Linked DNA regions of Homo sapiens: all the other regions are linked to region 2. Evidence: promoter capture Hi-C in human tissues and cell types (Jung and others, 2019). All regions are on one chromosome and are shown on one strand. Each heading gives the region's core, a stretch centred on a gene start or on the middle of the fragment in contact. The rest is flanking DNA. Distances are from core to core; before and after follow the strand shown.

Region 1 (2,742 bases), core at 205-2,704, 310 kb before region 2:
CCTATGTATTTTAAACTTTCCAGTTCTGACAATCATGTGGGTCAATTTCTTAAAATATAGCTCTGTAAATATATATGTATGTAATATTAATATATATACTGTATACACATATATGCATATATAACAAATTTTATATCCAATTATACCCAATAGTATATAAAACTAATTATATACATAAAACCAGTAGAATATGTACCATGTAAATAGAATATATACTAATTACATACATAAAACCAATAGAATATATACCATGTCTAAACATACAGTTAGATAAAAGGCCTAAGTTCTTTTTTTTTTTTTTTTTTTTTGTGAGCAACAAGGCTGTTTATTTCACGTGGGTGCAGGCGGGCTGAGTCCAAAAAGAGTCAGTGAAGGGAGGTAGGGGTGGGGCCGTTTTATAAGATTTGGGTAGGTAAAGGAAAATTACAGTCAAAGGAGGGTTGCTCTCTGGCCGGCAGAGGTGGGGGTCACAAGGTGCTCAGCGGGGGAGCTTTTGAGCCAGGATGAGCCAGGAGAAGGAATTTCACAAGGTAATGTCATCAGTTAAGGCAGGAACAGGCAATTTTTACTTCTTTTGTCATTCTTCAGAGGCCATCTGGATGTATACGTGCAGGTCACAGGGGATAAGATGGCTTAGCTTGGGCTCAGAGGCCTGACATTCCTGTCTTCTTATATTAATAAGACAAATAAAATGAAATAGTGGTAAAGTGTTGGGGTGGCAAAAATTTTGGGAGGTGGTATGGAGAGATAATGGGTGATGTTTCTCAGGGTTGCTTCGAGTGGGATTAGGGGCGGCGTGGGAACCTAGAGTGGGAGAGATTAAGCTGAAGGAAGATTTTGTGGTAAGGGGTGATATCGTGGGGTTGTTAGAAGAAACATTTGTCATGTAGAATTATTGATTATGTCCTGGATACGGTTTTGTATGAATTGAAAAACTAAATGGAATAAGAAGGAGAAAAACAGGTATTAAAGGACTGAAAATTGGGAGGACCCAGGACATCCAATTAGAGAGTGTCCAAGGGGGATTCAGTGTAGTTACTTGCTTGGTTGGTGAGTTTTTCGGCTCTATTCTTGACAGAGTCCCTTTTTTAAGTTGGAGGCTGAGCTTGGTGTGGTGTGTTTTTAAAAGACCATTAGTCCATTCTAACTTTCATTAAGATTGAGGACGGTAAGTGATATGAAGGTTCCACTGAATACCAAGAGCCTGAGAAACTGCTTGGGTGATTTGACTAGTAAAGGCCGGTCCGTTATTGGACTGTATAGAGGTGGGAAGGCCAAACCGAGGAATTATGTCTGACAGAAGGGAAGAAATGACTGTGGTGGCCTTCTCAGACCCTGTGGGAAAGGCCTCTACCCATCCAGTGAAAGTGTCTTCCCAGACCAAGAGGTATTTTAGTTTCCTGACTTGAGGCATGTGGGTAAAGTCAATTTGCCATTCCTGGGAGGGGGCAAATCCCTAAGCTTGATGTATGTGTAGGGAAGGTGGGGGGGCCTGAACAATCCCTGAGGAGTAGTAGAATAGCAGATGGAACACTGAGAAGTGATTTCCTTAAGGATAGACTTCCACGATGGAAAGGAAATGAGAGGTTCTAAGAGGCGGGCTAGCGGCTTGTAACCTACATGGAAGAGGTTAGGAAATGACAACAGAATAGAATGGGCCTGTGAGGCTGGAAGGAGATATTTTCCTTGGTCTAAGAACCATTTGCCTTGTGTGGGAAGAGATTGATAGGTGGAAGTTTTAGTGGGGGAGTAGGTGGGAATGGCCAAATGAGAAGGAGAAAAACTGCCATGAGAGATAGAAGTTGGAATGCTAGCAGCTTTTTTTTTTTTTTAAGCTATCTTATCAGCATAAGCATTGTCCTGAGCAATGGGATCTGATGAAAAGGCATAAGTTCTAGCATTCAATACTACAGTAGGAAAATTGTAGTTAAAATAATTAATGTATATTTCAAAATAGAAGAATTGTAATGTCCCCAACACAAAGAAAAGATAAATGTTTGAGTGGATAGATACCCCATTACTCTGATTTAATCATTAAACATTCTATACATATATCACAATATCACACATATACCAAGAACATGTACAACTATTATTTAATCAATAAAAATTACAAAAAAAGACATTTTGATTACCAATAATAAAAGCTTATGCTGGTTTAGGCAGAACAATTTCCATTTCTGTTGGTTTCTCACACTAAAGTCAGATCTCTCACTCTTTAATAGGACATTGGCCACCACTATCTCCATGTATGGCAACTTTATTTGGGATGGGAAGCAAAAATGTTTTAATATTTTATTCTGAAAAGTTTTCAATTTGAGCTGTATATATTTGAATCCCATTGAACTGGCTAGTTTTGCATCCCTATCCCTAAACCTATCACTGAAGCCAGGGTAATAAGATATTCTTATTTGCCAAGCCTACACAATATGACCATTCTCAGTACAGGATTGAGGATAGCCCAGCTCCATCCAGAAACATAAGCTGAGAGATAAGGATGGGTGTATTTCTCACTTTTTACTAAAACAGTCCACTCTTCACTCTACCTCCTTCAGGAAATCCAGGCTCTTAAACACAACAGAAAACCATTATCTACAAAAATAGAAAATGCTGCTAATTTTAGTTTGTAATTTTTTTTTTCCTGAGAGGCAGCCAAGCACAGTGTGAAAGCCCATGACCTGGAAATCACGAATGTCAGGTACTAGTTCTGGCTCAGCCGACATCTCAATACATGAATTTCTG
Region 2 (2,700 bases), core at 108-2,607:
AAAGAAGAGAAAAGAAAAATCATTCCTCCCAGCAAATCAGACTGGTTTAAAATCTCTCTTCTTTCTCAAGGTACTCTTGTTAGGAGAATCTATTCAAGCCAATTCCCAGGAGCCTTTATGAGAGAGATCTTTGCAGAGGAATTTGTCTTCTTCTTTAACACCATTAAACTAATAGGATTTTGCAGACTACCTATTCCCCAATCCCGGCGCCCCCAAACAACAGCCAAGCATCCCGCCCCTCCTCCTCTCACCCCTCCAACAACAAGGCTGTTCGTCTCTCAGTGCTAATTCCTGCAACTGTGTCACTGTCAGGGTGGTACCTGAACCTTAGAGAGAGAGAGAGAGAGAAAGAGAGAGAAACTGAGAGAGGGAATCAGAAAAGCCACCACCGTGAGAAATATACACTTCAACGCACGCCATTTATGCAGCCCCTATGTATGTTGCTCAAATGCTCGGAAAATGCACGCAAATCCAAACGTTGGAAGAGGCAGCAATTCAGACCCGTTCACCGGCTGTTCCCAAAAGAAGGGAACCGGTGCGGCTGGGAGGAGGCGAAACGATGCTAAATCTTAACCCCCCTCTCGTTGGGAAACGACATCTTTAATCGCGCCCTCGCCTCCAGACCTCGGTTCCCGCTCCAGCACGTTAAGCAGGGCGCACTCACCGCATCCCCGGGTTTGGGAAAATAACAACTGTTGGCCCCCCGGAGCGCCGCGCAGCATCCGCACCTCCCTTCTCCCACCTCCTGGTTTATTTTTAACCGCCTTCCATTCATGCCCTTCTGTCACATTCCCGATATTATTTATCCCTCAAATGTCCACTGTTTCTTAACAGCCAAAATAAGAAGGTAGAGGAAAGATACAAAAAAAAAAAAAAAAAAAAAAAGGTATCATACTTACCGTTCCCCGGCGGGGCGAAAAATAAAAATAAAGAAAATCCACCGGCTGGCTTGTTTTTCCCCCTCAAGCTGCAACAGCTGGAGGAGGGGAAGAATGATCCTGGGTGGGGGGCGGGGGGTGGTAAAAGGAATCACTCGGGTTTGGCAGGTGGAGGCTCCAAATATCCACGGAACAAGTTCTGTTGCCTGGCCCGAGGGGTGCACAGAGTCCTCGCGGCTGGAGCCTGGGGGTGGGGGTTGGGGCTGCCCCAGAGAAGACCCCAAGACTCCTGGTTCCTCTGGAGTTCAGCACAGGAGGGATTGCCTGGGAAAGGAAGTCAAGGTTCCCCCGAAAAGAAACAAAATCCTAGACAGCAGCGATCACTTGTTAAGCCCGAATTCCTCCTCCAACATCCATCCCTCTCTCGCTCTCGCTGGCTGCGGGAGCAGCACACGCCTCCCCTGGCCGCGAACGCGCTCTGGGCGGGGGCGGGGCCAGGGCCGAACCGAGGGTGTGGCGTTCGCGACGGTCGCCAGGGGCGCCTCCCGGCGCGGCGGGGCGGGTGCAGTCACGACGCCGCGACTCCCCGCACCCCGGCTGGGCCCCCCGACTCCCAGGATCTGGGATCGATTCCAGGAGTCTTTGGCTGTGGTCCCCACAGGCGAGGAGCAAATCCTGGAGAAGTGTCCCCGTTGGGGCCGGAATAGGGGTTTCGACGGCAGCGCGGGAGTCCCCAGAGGGCTTGGGAGCGGGGAGCTCCAATGGGAGGTGCAGTCCCGAAAATGGGGTCCTCTGGGACATCTCCTCTACCTAACTTGCTTTCTCTATATCTCCCCTCGAGCCCCGAGCCCCGTCTTCTTTTCCCCACCCCATCCCCTCCCAAAGCGGGTTTGTTGGGTTGGGAGCCGGGTGCATCTCCGGCGAGGCCACGGGCGGGGAGCCCTCCTGTGCCTGCCAGAGCGCCCAGATCCCTCAGTCTCCGTCTCCTTTGCACACAGGAGTTGGGAGGCTTCAGCGCCGGGGTTGGGCCTCAGGGGCGCGGAGGAGACCGACTTTCAACCTGTATTCAATCCCGGGCAGGGGAATGTTACAGAAATTGGAATCAGGCCCAGGCTAGGGGCTGCGCACAGGAGGCAGCAGTTCTAGGGGAGGAGGGTTGGAGAGATGAGTAAGTTGCAGGGTGGGCCAGGGGCTGAGGGCTTTGGAAGGCGGGGGAAGAGCCCGCAGCCAACCTGTTGCTGCAAAAACAAATACGGCTCTGGTATCGACTCCCTGAGGGCTCTTTGGATCCTTCAGGACAGAAATCAAGGGATATCGCAGCAAAAAGCAAGTTTTTTTGGTTTTCTTTCTTTCTTTCTTTTAATTAAAGCTTGTGCGCACAAGGGAGCTAACACCAAGAAAAAAAAAAGTGGGCTGTTCCTCGAAGTCAGGGTGTGGGTTTCTTTTACGGGCCTCTCCCGTAAGGGGAAATAAGGAGAACTATAGACAGGGCATGTAGAGGTGGAGTTTTTCTGGTGCATGCATGGTGGTTTAACATGCTTCTTCATAGGACGTATGTATCATTAGCATCTTAAATCTCCACCTCTGGGAAAGATTTTTTGCATTAAATTAAGGAAAAGGTCACTATGAGTTGAAAGTTAAACCTAGCCGCCGCGCATGCCAGGGCCTCGGGCAAGTCCCTGGTCCCCTAAAGCCGAAACTTCTGGTTAATAGCTTCTTGAGCTTTTCATGCTAATTGGCTGGAGTTACAGTTTGAGGAAGGGTCTCTCCTTGTTTCTTGTTTATTTCTTCGGACCACATCAAAACAGGAAAGTAGACAGTT
Region 3 (2,842 bases), core at 323-2,822, 330 kb before region 2:
AAATAAACAAGCTCCTAGTTACATCACACATTCAGTGCATTTCTTATAACGTGCTGTATTAGGAATATCCACCCTGTGTTATCTTTGCTTACAGCTTGTTATTTCAAAGATAATGAAATAGAAGTAAGTTGATGCAGACTGGAGTTTTACAAATAAAACTATCAAATGAATGGAGCATGGAAATCTATTCAAGCAGAGGAAATACACTCCATTATAACAAGATGCCAGTGCCTGTTGATGAGCAACCATCTGAATATAATTGTTAGCACTGAAAGTTTCCAATGCCTGAAATACCTGCAGGCAGGGTTTTCTTAGGTCAGCATTGAAAAGTTATAGAAATGATGCACTGCTGTCTCAAAACTCATTGGTAATACCACAGTCTTCACCAAAGTTAAACCTTGCTTTGCCTGAGAAAGGTTTTCTTAGAACACTTTGCCTGTCTTTCACTTTTTCTTTTGCCCATGTTATTCTTAGGATAGCTTCAATTTATTATAACTAAATAATGGTAAATTTTATAATTTATTTTAACAGTGGTTGTTAACTACAAATTTAATTTTGCACTATTCTGATAATATCTACTACCTTCTTTATGCCATACTTGATGGAAGGTGTTGGGATATGGAGTGAAAGTCCATTCCACTCTAAATTTTGTGAGAGCAGGAACCTTGTCCTTCTTGTTCACCAGTAATATACTCTGTGCCTAGCACTCACCTGATACAGAATAAGTACTCAACAAATAAATGATTTTTATTAATTGAATGAATAAATAAAAATTCATTGCAAAATGTTCACAGTCTGGTGAAGCTAATTATATTGTTTTTAATAAGTGTGATAATAGTGATATAAATGCCTGCTTTCTGGGGCTGAGATGAGGAAAAGTCTAACTGATATGCTTAGTTCAAGAATTCCACTATGGAAAGTAAATTGGAGCCTTTTTGGCCAGCTTGAGTAAGAAACTCTCCTACAATGAAATGGTGAAGAAGAAAGTCACATCCCATCTCAATCTGGCAGAACAAGTGAAGATAAGAATGGGAAAATGTAAAAGGACCCCAGATATGTTGCAGAAAATGCTGCTTCTGGTATTTTTCATTATTCGTAGAGACTCCAAAGAGCCAAAAAGAGCTGAGATTCCTGAGAATTAATGGCGCTAAAAACTTAGAGGGACTTTACAGAATAGAAGGAGGCCTTGTAATCTGACTCACCGGCCTCGTTGGAGTATATTTAAGCCTCTTCCAAATAGATAAAGAAAAAAAAAAAAAACCTGGCAAAAATCCAGCTAACCAAACAAAATAACACCCACTTCATTTAATTACCTATATCTTTACTGGCTTTGTCAATGAATAAGTGGTTGGATATAGGAGGAACTGGTAAGACACATAAAGATCTATGTCTTGGGTAAAGAGGCAGAGAGCAAATCAGTATGTTCATGCTAATGGGCTGCTATAGCATTTTGTATATTTACAACAAGGTCTAAAACTACATACTCTGCCGGTAAATCATAAACATTTTAAATTCAGTAAGAAAATCAAGAATATCTGGAGTAGTAAGAAAAATATGAAGCTTAAATCTAAAATTAAACCCACGAGTATAAACAATTCAACCAAGAGCCAGGTGTTGGATGCAAAATCAACTAAAATTTTAGCGACTTCAGTGGTATTTTAGCTAGCTGAAATCATTTCAGGAGGCTGGAAGGCACAGCTTGCCATATCCAAGAGATTGAGCTTACATCCCAAACTTAGAATAGAGCCTTTCCTGGTTATGCTGTTGATATTTTAAGAAACATGACAGCCCCATCTGCCATCCATATGAGAAGTCACTCTTTCCAAGATGTCACTGAATTTATGCCTATAACCCTAAACTAACAGGAAAAGGAAATATCATTCTCCCTCATCTCCTTCCAAGAAAGGTTTAATGTGCAAAAGTCTAGCACTCTTTCCAAGAAGATAACCAAAGATTTTTTTCTACCAATATATACCAAAGTATGTCAATATCCAAAGAAGATAAGAGGTAGAAAAGAGTCTCAATACCCATGTTGATTATTTTTAACCTAAAATTTCCCTGCCAAACCTTCACTAACCACTCCATATGCATTATTTTATTTAAGCCTTACAATGACTCTAGGAATTTAGTTAAAGGTATAATCATTAAGTAGGTGAAAAAAAAAAAGTCCCTACAGAAGTTAAGGTACTGGTTCCATCCACAACAAAGTTACAGAAATGAGATTCAATTCCACATTTTTCTAATGCCAAATTCTATACTCTTAACTATTCTGATATGGTGTCTCTATAATCGCATCACATCCTTGATTACCATTTCTTCACAGTCTCTCTCATGTGTAGCAAGGTTCCTCATTCTTCTATAGGCTAGTTATGGATAGAATTTTGGTTGTCTATGAATGTGGTTGGGAAAAAATTATGTATCTTTATATTTTCACCAACTTCTAAGGCACGTTAACATAGCCTTACATTATTAATTTAGGCAAAACACTGTAGTAACATCACCAGTACCTCTAACTTTGTCACTAATAGAAACCACAGATATTTTCATATCACTTTACATTGCAAATATCTCAAAATACGTTTGTCATCACCATTTATTGCAATTATGTAATTAGGTTGTTAGTACCTGCCACTAAATCTTCTTATTTATTGCACTAATAAAGAAGCACATATACTATGATTATCACTATTTTAAAAATATATTTTGGTTCAACACAAATGCCTTTGAAATCATAATAGTCTTGTTTAACGTTACTCAAAAATTTTCTGAGAAGCGGCTTTACTATATTACCAAAAAAGTGCACGGCACATACAAAACTGAAGAAATTCTGTTCCATAGGACA
Region 4 (2,700 bases), core at 150-2,649, 460 kb before region 2:
AGAAGAGGGAGGTCTCGGTTACACCCCATCCATAACTTTTTAAGTGATGTTTTTGTACTGAGTAAAATTGCTACAATAACACAAATCTTGATATAAACTGATTTTTCTTCTTATACCATCTCAGGAAAGATGATGAAAGAAGGGCTAGCCTGAAAGAAACTTCTGCCTTCTTTGGAAATGAGATGCAAAAAGTATGGCTCCCTGCTACAACAAAAATGGATCCCCCAAGGAGGACATAACTGGAATTGCTGTCATTGTTACCCCTTTGAAAATCTCAGCCAGCTAGAGGACCAGAGACATTCTCATCAAGATTAAAGCCAGAGCAACCACCACCAACAAATGATGACAAATCCCTGCCAGGATTGGAGTGGGTTTGAATGGCATAGCTGGCCCCTGGTACTCCTGAGTGGTTAGATCGTCAGTCTTACCTGTTCATTTTGTTAACCTCATAGTAGTACAGCAACATATTTTACTTGTTTGAATTGTTTGTGTTAGAATCAGGTATTAACCTTGTAGGCAACATGGATAATATATTTCTGTAGTTCAACATAATTTCCATTTTAAATTCACAATTTATTAGAGCAGCAGAAAATAATGTCAATAAAATTGAAGCCTCTTTTTCTTAAGGGATTGTGCCTAAGGAGCTTACTTAATTCCAAGACTGGGTGTGTGGTGAGGAGGGGAGAAAATGGAGAGGACGCTATGCCTCATTATTTCCTAAGATGCTCATCATTCCAAATGATCATCCATCACTGGTCTTAAGGTCACTTTTGTCTTCTGGTCTCTTTGGGTCTGAAAGATCTCTGCTATGTCCATTATTCAGGTGGGGGTTTGGAAATAACTGCAACCTATCTAGAAACTCATCTGCCAAATGAACTTCGCAACAATTTCCTATGTGGGGGCATATCACCTTCCTGAGACTCTGCCTGAGGTAAAGGCACAGAGCCTCACTCCCTTGATCAAGCTTCCTTCCATCCTTCTTACTCCAACCTGTTTTCTGTTTGCCACAGAAATCTCACCTTCTTTCAGAGACACAAAGGGAACTCTACCCCAAGATCAATTTTATAAAGGCTCATAATTCCAGTTCTCTCTTGATAATAGAGCAGTCTCGAAATCAGTTACTAAATGTAGGGTGGATTAATTTTAGATCTTGTGTATAGGACTTGGTCTGAATCCTTTAAAATCGTAGGTATATACTTTACATAAGCCTTACCCCAAGGGCAGCCATAATTTTCTTTCAACCATATTTTGTAGGCTGGTGAGTCCTGCACCTGCCCCAAGTTTCAGGCAATTAACTTGACTGTGGTCTCCTGCCATGCACACTGAGCTTTAGCTCTCATTAATCTGTGGGAGACAAATTCTAGCTTCCTCTAGACTGAGAACCAGCAGGCCTAGCTCCAGTCTCTAATCACTAACTTATCACTGTGACATTTTTTTCCCTTTCTGGTCTGTGGAGATATTTCTCTTCTTTTGAGTTTACCATATCTTAGTCATTTTGCCATTCTTTAAAATTATTCTTTGACTGCTAAGCTTGGAGTTGATGGAGAAGTTCAAGCCTAAACTCATAATGTCATCCTGACCCTTGGTCCCAAACTGTTGGTATCTGATTATCTAGTTCTCAGGGTGAATTTGGATATTTGTAGACTTGAAGGCCCAAATAGACAAGTGGACACTCCATGTTAATCATAGCCCAACTTATCCTAGAAAGAAAATTAAGTTTAATTAAGTTCCTCAATATATTTCACCTAAGATGCAAGAACAAATAAACCCTGAAAAATATTTTTTATAGTGAAGCCCTTGCTCAGAGAAAAAACAGAACAAAACCTCAAGAACTGTGATTAATTATACTAAAGGATATTTTCAGGCATGGACTTGTCTTGAAAACGTGCTGTTGGGCCTAATTGTATTTACAGTTCACACTCATATATAGAGCACTGGTAGACCAGTCAGTGAGTGAATGATTATAGTCCTATTTTTGGCTTGAACATTCATCAATGTGTGAGTGTTGGCAGGAAAGCCACTAAACTTTTCACAGTATGTCTTCTCATTGTAAAATGGAAATATTAATTCCTGCCATTATTGTGGTATGGTTATGAAGAACAAACAAAACACAGCCAAATGATGCTATAAATCTGTTTTGAGATTATCCCTGGCACATTTACCTAGTAAAATTTTGCATTCATTTTGCATAGTAAAATGAATAGTTGTTATTTTAAAAGAGGGTAAAAAAAATAAGCTAAGTAATTCAAGAATCTAAAAACAACTATAAAATAAGCAATACATTAAACAAATATTAAAATTACTTAACCAAAAAGAAAGCTATTTTGTTTAAAAGATTAGTAGAATTAAGACGAGATTTTAAATGTCTCTTTCTACTGAGGTTAATGCTAAAAAATTGTATCTTTGAGTTTTTTTTTCTTTTTTTAGAAAATGATAGTGGAAAAATTTTTATCAGAAGAAAGCTTAAAAGCATAGGTAAAATTAGCCTTTTTTTCTAGAGAAAATATAAGTATCAAAAATGACAGAAGGAATAGATCAATTAAATACTGTAAAGAGTATATAGCTAAAAATAATCAATTCCCAATGTCTCAAAATTCACCTTATAGTACTAATTATAACTGTGGCCAAATCTCCAAGGTACAGATAATGCTTATATATTATGACCTTTCCAGACACTATAAAAAGAGGACAACCTGTCAA

What was found. Contacts are between HindIII fragments. The study calls those that stand out against the background at their distance.
Region 1: a contact is called between a fragment that was not itself captured here and the fragment with the promoter of KCNA4 in region 2, in 3 of the 25 tissues and cell types used here (heart left ventricle, heart right ventricle and mesendoderm cells).
Region 3: a fragment that was not itself captured here is called in contact with the fragment with the promoter of KCNA4 in region 2 in 3 of the 25 tissues and cell types used here (dorsolateral prefrontal cortex, hippocampus and stomach).
Region 4: a contact is called between a fragment that was not itself captured here and the fragment with the promoter of KCNA4 in region 2, in 2 of the 25 tissues and cell types used here (dorsolateral prefrontal cortex and liver).

What each region holds. Positions count from the first base shown.
Region 1 is chr11:29,705,451-29,708,192 of GRCh38, forward strand. No RefSeq gene overlaps it. Among named protein-coding and RNA genes, the nearest start is that of LINC02546, 110 kb to the left of the region's middle. The HindIII fragment of the contact is 4,665 bases long and covers 1-2,742 here.
Region 2 is chr11:30,015,673-30,018,372 of GRCh38, forward strand. It overlaps KCNA4 (potassium voltage-gated channel subfamily A member 4), which reads right to left and starts at 1,358. Exons shown (of 2, transcript NM_002233.4): 1 at 900-1,358. The HindIII fragment of the contact is 10,149 bases long and covers 1-2,700 here.
Region 3 is chr11:29,681,321-29,684,162 of GRCh38, forward strand. No RefSeq gene overlaps it. Among named protein-coding and RNA genes, the nearest start is that of LINC02546, 88 kb to the left of the region's middle. The HindIII fragment of the contact is 7,986 bases long and covers 1-2,842 here.
Region 4 is chr11:29,552,236-29,554,935 of GRCh38, forward strand. The region is part of intron 1 of LINC02755 (long intergenic non-protein coding RNA 2755); the gene reads right to left. Among named protein-coding and RNA genes, the nearest start is that of LINC02755, 41 kb to the right of the region's middle. The HindIII fragment of the contact is 3,890 bases long and covers 1-2,700 here.